Linked DNA regions of Homo sapiens: region 1 is linked to region 2. The links are contacts of gene promoters, found by promoter capture Hi-C in blood cells and fetal thymus (Javierre and others, 2016). All regions are on one chromosome and are shown on one strand. Each heading gives the region's core, a stretch centred on a gene start or on the middle of the fragment in contact. The rest is flanking DNA. Distances are from core to core; before and after follow the strand shown. Region 1 holds the start of BEND4 (BEN domain containing 4). Region 2 overlaps GUF1 (GTP binding elongation factor GUF1).

What was found. The method cuts DNA at HindIII sites, captures the fragments that hold promoters and counts their contacts. A CHiCAGO score of 5 or more calls a contact.
Region 1: the fragment with the promoter of BEND4 here is called in contact with a fragment that was not itself captured in region 2 in 1 of 17 cell types (total B cells); the score reaches 8.6 in total B cells.

The regions. Positions count from the first base shown.
Region 1 is chr4:42,150,631-42,154,303 of GRCh38, forward strand. It overlaps BEND4 (BEN domain containing 4), which reads right to left and starts at 2,025. Exons shown (of 6, transcript NM_207406.4): 1 at 1,902-2,025; 2 at 1,027-1,746. The coding sequence starts at 1,513. RefSeq lists an enhancer at 499-1,342 and silencers at 1,108-1,197, 1,398-1,717. The HindIII fragment of the contact is 4,164 bases long and covers 1-3,041 here.
Region 2 is chr4:44,681,016-44,684,547 of GRCh38, forward strand. GUF1 (GTP binding elongation factor GUF1) reads left to right here. Exons shown (of 17, transcript NM_021927.3): 4 at 108-188; 5 at 1,319-1,396; 6 at 2,220-2,303. Among named protein-coding and RNA genes, the nearest start is that of GUF1, 4.4 kb to the left of the region's middle. The HindIII fragment of the contact is 1,070 bases long and covers 1,065-2,134 here.

The DNA of each region.
Region 1 (3,673 bases), core at 775-3,274, 2.5 Mb before region 2:
GATAAACGTGGCTGCACCCACTGGGAGCTGGTGGAGAGGTCCCTTGGGCGCAGGCCTCAGGCTGTGGCCTCGCAACCAGCCCATCTCGCTCCCTGCAGGCAGGCAGTGGGCTGCTTTGCCGGGCAGCGCCCGCAGACTCGAGATAAAGGAGAGGAGTCGCGGACCCCAGAGTGGGTGCCTCCCACGAGGCGTTTCTGTAAGGCTCGGGCCGAGATGCTCGGGAGGGGCAGGACCCCGCGGCGCGGCAGCGTGCCACGGACGGGGACGAGGGGATGGCGGGGACGACGACGTGGGCGGTGGGAGCAGAGTGCCTGCGACTCCCGGGGCAGGAAGGAGGGGCGGGATGGTTCCCCGCGCCCGAAATCCACGGCGTGGCGGACGCGGAGGAGCCCCGAGTCTCACAACCAAGGGGTGGGAAGGAAAAGGGACAGAGCGAGACAGAGCGCCCCCGAGAAACACAGGCGCACAAAAAAAGACAGAAGGAAAAACGGAACTGAGAGCCAGCCAGCATGGACTGCGACAGCGTGAGAGTGCATCAAAGAGGTGGCGAAGAAAGCACTAGAAGGCAAAGGAGAAGTGGAGAGAAGAAGAAACAAATGGAGGAAGAAGGAGAAAGGGAAAAAGCAGACGGAAAAAGTGAAGTAGTACGAGGGCGTCCCAGCGGGGCGGCCCGAGAAGCTCCAGCTTCTTCCCGAGCGGCCGCCGCTATCCCCCGGGGGGGCGTCTGGCCCCACTCCGGACCACGCCCGAGCGATCCTGGTCGCCGACTGCCACAGCCGTGCTTCCCGGCGCGGGATCCAAGCCGCGGAGCCACCTGTTAGGCGCGCGCCGTCGGAAGCCCAGGCGCGGCGGCGCTGGAGAATCCTCTCGAAGTTTCCGGGTGCGCGGGGAGGCCCCAGGTGCGCCCCGACATCCCGACACGGCCCAGCACGGGTAAGTGTCGGCGGCCCCCCGCTTCTCCTTCCTGGGTCCCCTCCCGCTGCCCCCGGCCGTGGCGGGAAGGAAAGTTGTGCGGAGAGTTGGTACCTGCGCTGAGCTCCAGGCTGGCGCTGTCGCTACCCGTGCCGCCGGTGCCGGCGGCCGCCGCCGCGCCTGGGCCATACCTGACGACAGCGGCGAACGAAGACGACGAGGAGGCGGCGGGGGACGCGGGCGGCGGCTGCGCCGGAGTCCTCAAGTGGCCCTGGGATGTGGCGGGCGTGCAGGACGGCGACGACGACGAAGCGGCGGCGGCGGCCCGGCCGGGCCCGGGGGGGTAGGAGCTCTGCGCCTGGAACTGCTGCGGCGGCGGCTCGCTGCTGCTGATGGAGACGGCGGCGTGCGGCGCGAAGGGCGGCGGGGGCGGCGGGGGCGCCCGCACGTGCGGCAGCTCCACCAGGGTGGGTCGCTCGTAGCGCTTGGCCAGCGCCGGTCTCTTGCTGGGGAACGTCTTGAGGACGCTGTAGGGGCTGCGCTGCTTGTAGATTTTGGGGACGCTGGGCCCCTCCTCTGCCGGCTGCATCTCTTCCTCCATCCGGCGCCTCGGGGCCGGTCCCTCGGAGCACGTCCCCTCCCCGCCGGGCGCCGGGCTCCGAGGGTGCCTCCGCCGCCTGCCCGCCGGGTCTGCCCTGGTGCGCGCGTGTGGGAGGGTGTGTGTCTGTGCCGTGGCCGCCGCCGCCGCCGCCTGTCGCTGAGGCTGGCATCGCCGAGCCCCCGCGCGGGGGGCTGCCGCCCGAGCTCCTGATTGACAGGCTGCCTCGCCAATGCCTGGAGGGAGAAAGGAGGTAAAGAGCAAGTGTTTAGGGTAATATCTGCTAATGATAATGGGGGCGGGGCGGGGCCTGGCGCCGCAGCCGCCCGCGGGGTCTGCCTGGCGGCTCCGCGCCTCCGACGGGGAGCGGGGGAAGGGGGAAAGCGAGGACCTGGAGGACGCCCGGGAACTGGTGAAGAAGGTGGGGATCCGGGATCTGGCTACGGCGAGACTTTAGAGACCCAGATGTGGACTCGAGGCTTCTGCGGCTGCGGGCGGGGTCCGGCTTCCGAAACGAGCTCGTGGCGCCCCCTGCATGACCCCAAACTCTCGGGGTTGCACAGAGGAGGGGCTAGTCGTTGGGGCGGGGTCGTCAGAGTACGTGTGTATTACAGCAAGTTCTTCTACCAATCGGGAATTGCTCTCCGATCCTTCTGAAAAGAACCTCTTGAAGATCTTGGCCCGGGTGGTCGCGCGGTGTTTACGGGGCTTTGGGGTCCTGCTTTCCCCGAGCATCGCGGCCTCTGAGCTCATGCGGAACATAAAAGCTCGCAAGGCGTAGAACTTTTTCACGTTTTCATTTGTTTCCCGTAGGGGCCCCGAGAACGTGCATGACACCATGATTTCCCCCCCATTATAAAGATGAGAAAACCGAGGCTCTGAGAGGTTGAAGGGAATTGCCCAAAGTCAGACACTCGGGAGTGTGCGGCTGTGTTGCACTGACGCATCCAGGTTATTTGAAGTCAACTCCTCACTTCCCATAGCCAGTAGCCTCTGTGCAATTGAGTGGGGAAATGTCCTGATACCTCCCTTTGAGGTGATGATTACTTTCAACAGTGTCATTTTTAATATATGTATATGTACTTGCAAGCCCAGGGAAACACGAGAACTCACTCCTTGCATTGTTTTACTCACTGCAACTGGCGCCATCCGGCGAGGGTCTGGAGGGTGCCCAATTTCAGTAGCCGTTTGAATGAGAGATCTCAGTCGTTGGGAGGAAGATCCTCCATGGGATGCAGATGTCCTGGTCTCTCCCAGCCACTTTTTGGGGCAGAGGGTCCATTGCTCCCTATCCCAAATCACCCCTCTTCTAGGCCAACCAGCATACCCTGCCCCAGGTTTGCTTTTCAGCCTTCCTTTTTCGTTCTCCAGGTCAGAGTTCTGGATGCTCCTTGATGTAGGACCCTCATCTCTGCACTCTGAAGTTTGTTTCCTTTTCAGAGCCTTCCTTTTATTCTTAGGAAGGTGACCCATTTTCTTCTGGGGGTTCACATCTTTTGGCCTCTCTTTCCCTGGTCTCCTTCCCTTTGGAAGCTTTTTCTCTCTGCCTTGCTGGTTCAGCTTCTGTATTATTCCCCCCTAGATTGTCTCCCTCTCTCCTGCAGCTTCCTCAGATGGTGCTGTGTCCCCCCCCCAATCCATTTATTAGAGATGAAATAAATAATGCCATAAATATAAGTATTTGGGAGTCCAGGAACTGTCAGGGCTGATTAGGGCATAGAGGACATTTTCTTTCTCATTATGCAAAAGCATTTCATGGGGAAATAAAAGAGGTTTCATTGTAACTCATGCATGTCATATTTCAAGGAATTCAAGATATTAATCATATTTAACATTATTTGCAATGTTTCTCCCTGGCTTCTGAAAACTGCTAAATGAGGACACGTGGATCACTAGGAAAAGGAGACAAGCATGAGAGGGACAGTTAAGAAATAATGAAATGCTGGTGAAAGAGAAAGAGAATGAGATGCCAGGGAGATGTTTCTTAGGCACGTAAGTGAGAAATGGGGGAGCTACTTCTGAGACGTGAGACAGCTGAAATTGAATGATATACTGGAGGAAATAAATGATAACAAACCTCCCCACACTTTCCTTTCTATAAAGCAGTTCTGAATTTTGCATTGAAATGTTTTCCTCCCACTTTACTCCCAGATAATTTGCCAA
Region 2 (3,532 bases), core at 350-2,849:
AACGAATATTTAACAGCTTTTATCAAGTAAAGTCAATAAATTTGCCATAATGCTCTTTCCTAAAAAATTAACTCACATTTACAGGTATCAATATTTTTGTTTCTCAGGGCCATGTTGATTTTAGTTATGAAGTATCCAGGTCACTTTCTGCTTGCCAGGGTGTTTTACTTGTGGTTGATGCAAATGAGGTAGGTATTTTTCATTTTGTATGATGTGATATGACATGACTATTTGGTTGTTTCAAGAGTTTTTCTTTAAAATGTGTTTTGGAAATAGAATTTTTGTGTTTGAAAAATAGATTTAATCTGTTACTTACTGAAAATCATATGGTTTCATCCTGTTAATCTGAAATATTATTACAATAAAGCATTCTCTGGAATTGACTAGTTTTTAAATTGGAATTGTTCAAAAGATTGTTGTATTTTTTTGAAGTGTGACATCATATTGTCAATGCATCTTACCAAAAAAACCCCACCAACTTTAGCAGTTCTTAATCTGAGGTTTCTATATCCATTTTTAGCAGATCTTAAGAATAAATCATTAGTTTTCAGATCATTTTAGGTGATTTTAAGGCAATAATTTGGAAGTATTAGGTTTTTAAAAAATCAGTAACATTACTAAGCTCTTTTGTTGTGTAAGCCGTAAAGACACTCAGCAGATGACCATGTAAGAGCTGTGAATATAAACTTTTGTTACATGTTTCTCACAAACTCTTCATTCAAAACCCAACTTTTTTTTAGTGGTGGTGGTGACCGTGTTGTGTTAAGCCGTTAAGCCTTTCCTGATCCCATCAAGGAAAGTCAATCTCTACCTTATGTAGGCAGTACTGGCCTTTATAAACTACCTTGATGACTGTGTTCTCTAATAAGCTTTGAGGTCCTTGAGAGTCCATGTTACATCTTTTGTTTCTCCAATGCCTGATGTAGTTTCTGGCACAGAAAAGGCCCTCCAATAAATGCTTTCTGAACTGAAAGGAATTATTACAGAGGATGATTCAGATGCATGGAAAAATAGGTATCATAGTTGAGCTGCCGTGTACCTTTCCTTAAAGGCTTCCTATCTCAAGCTTAGTAGACTGTCTGTTGGCTCACTCTACTTGATGTGATTATTGCTTTACCATCAGCGATTTTCATATTGACCCCAAAGACATAAGTTGGAGAGAAAAGCATGAAGGGTAGCTACATGGCATTTTGTTTAATTTTATTATTAGCATAACGCAAAATCTCTTGATGAAGATGTATAGAATGGTCTTAAATTACAAGTTTTGTGATATATAATAGAATGGTCATCTCAGTATCTTGTATCTTGATATTTTCAGGGAATTCAAGCCCAAACTGTAGCAAACTTCTTTCTTGCCTTCGAAGCACAGCTATCGGTAATTCCAGTTATAAATAAGGTAATTACAATGAGACAACAGTGTTGCTATTTCACTTTCTAAAAGTACAATTAATGTTTAAATGTCAGTTGTACTATTCATTATATGAGGGATCACCAGCTATTTATTAAATATATTGGTGGGATTTATCTCTTTGAATTGTATATAACAGAAGTGCAACTGAAACTCACCCTTGCACAGAATTGAGAAGGTAGTTCTCCTGAATTAACTTGTGGTAGCTGAGGGCCATTTCTGTAGGGAAGGGAAGCAGGGCAGATGAAACATGTTTGTCAGATTAAACCATACATAGGAAAAGAAGAGAAGTTTATAATCTAGGAAGAAACAATACAACACATGAAGCATGACAATTTAGTGCTAAACTGAGCTCTGTCTATAAACTTCCATTTCATATTTTAAAATTAATTTAGAATCTTAATTTTAAAATCTGCATTGCTTTAATTATATTTCTTGATAATGGAGTTAAGTTTAAAAGAAGGCCATAGGTAAGACAGCTTGTTGTCAGACTTAATGTTGTATTTAACTTAACCTTTAAAATCAGTTCACATGCTGCTTAATTGATAAATTACTACTGATCTCTTCTGCTGCCCTGGGTAGCTAACTGCTTAAGTTTTTTTTGCAAGCTCTGCTACTTAACTTCTCTTTTTCAATCATGGTTATTAAATTATACTGCTAATATATAGATTATTTTACTGCTTTTGAAAAAATATTGTAGAGGGGTCAGTTAGGTTAAAGTGGGTAAGCTTTTAATTACCTCCGAATACTGTTAATACATAATACATCTTATCTTTATTATACTTCACATAATGGATTTTTTTTTTTAAAGATAGATCTGAAGAATGCTGATCCTGAAAGGGTTGAAAACCAAATTGAGAAAGTGTTTGATATTCCAAGTGATGAATGTATTAAGGTAAAATACGTTCCTAAAAAGATTATACTTTGAAAAAAGTCTCAAGTAATTGGGCTAAGTGAAATTTCATGGTATTTGATAACCTGGCATTATATGCTGTTTTTTATAGTTTTACAAACTTCTTTTACTATTATTTCCTTTGATCCTTATCAAAAGCCCTTTTTATATTGTTAGGACATACAGAAATTATTGCGATGCTGTAGTTAAAGGAACTGAGGCTCAAAGGTTTTATCACTTTCCTAAGATCACAGGTTTAGTTAGCCAATGTGCCAGGACTAAAACACAGGCCTTCTGAAACTCCCTGCAGTATTTCTTGTGTGTCAGTTTGCCCAGTGGAAATACTGTCTTTGAAGAGCAGGTTCAAACTAATTTCAGGGCTTTTGTATGTATCATTCTTGGAACTGACAAAAACCTATTTTATAAAAAGCTAGTTGTAGTGCTAGGAAACAATAGATTTTATTTATACCAAAGTTGCTACCATTTTAAATTTGAATTTTTATTTACCTTTGAAATGATGATCTGCTTGTTAAACAGCCACAGCCAAACTGCTATACTACATGGTAGTGTAAAGTATGTCAGCACAGCAATGTAATGTTTTTCTTTCAAGCTAATTTAATTTTCAAAAGAGCAAGTTATATATGGTTTTATATTTTGGATTATGTTATATTAAAATACAATTAACTATTCTGATTTTAATCTTAATAAAATTCATTCAGATTCTTATTTGGTATATGCCAGCTAAGAGTATGGCAGTGAATAAGACAGACAAGACCCCTTCCTTTCTGCAGACAGTCAATAAATAAGTAAACAAAGAAGTAAGCATAGGAATTATTGACTAGGATAGAGATTGTCAAGGAAATTCATTCGACAAATTGTTATTATTCTAGGTGAAATACCATCATTAACAGTGAAAAGTCTTTTTTCTTAGAGAGACGTTATGACATGGAATAACTTAGCAAAAGCGTCTCTGATAAACTGAAACGTGGAGGAATGAATAATTTTCAGAAAAACATTCCAGGAAGAGAAAAGAGCATGTGTAAAGGACTTAAATTAGGAAAAGATTTGGCATGTTTACTGATCAGAAAGGTTGATTGGATGAGAAGGCTTTGTAGGGGTATGCAGGAATCAAGTCATGCTGGGACTCGTGCTGTGCTGAAGAGCTTGAAAATTATTCTAAGACAATGGAAGGATTTTAAAGCAAGAGAAACAAATTAACCAGTCATTCAGGT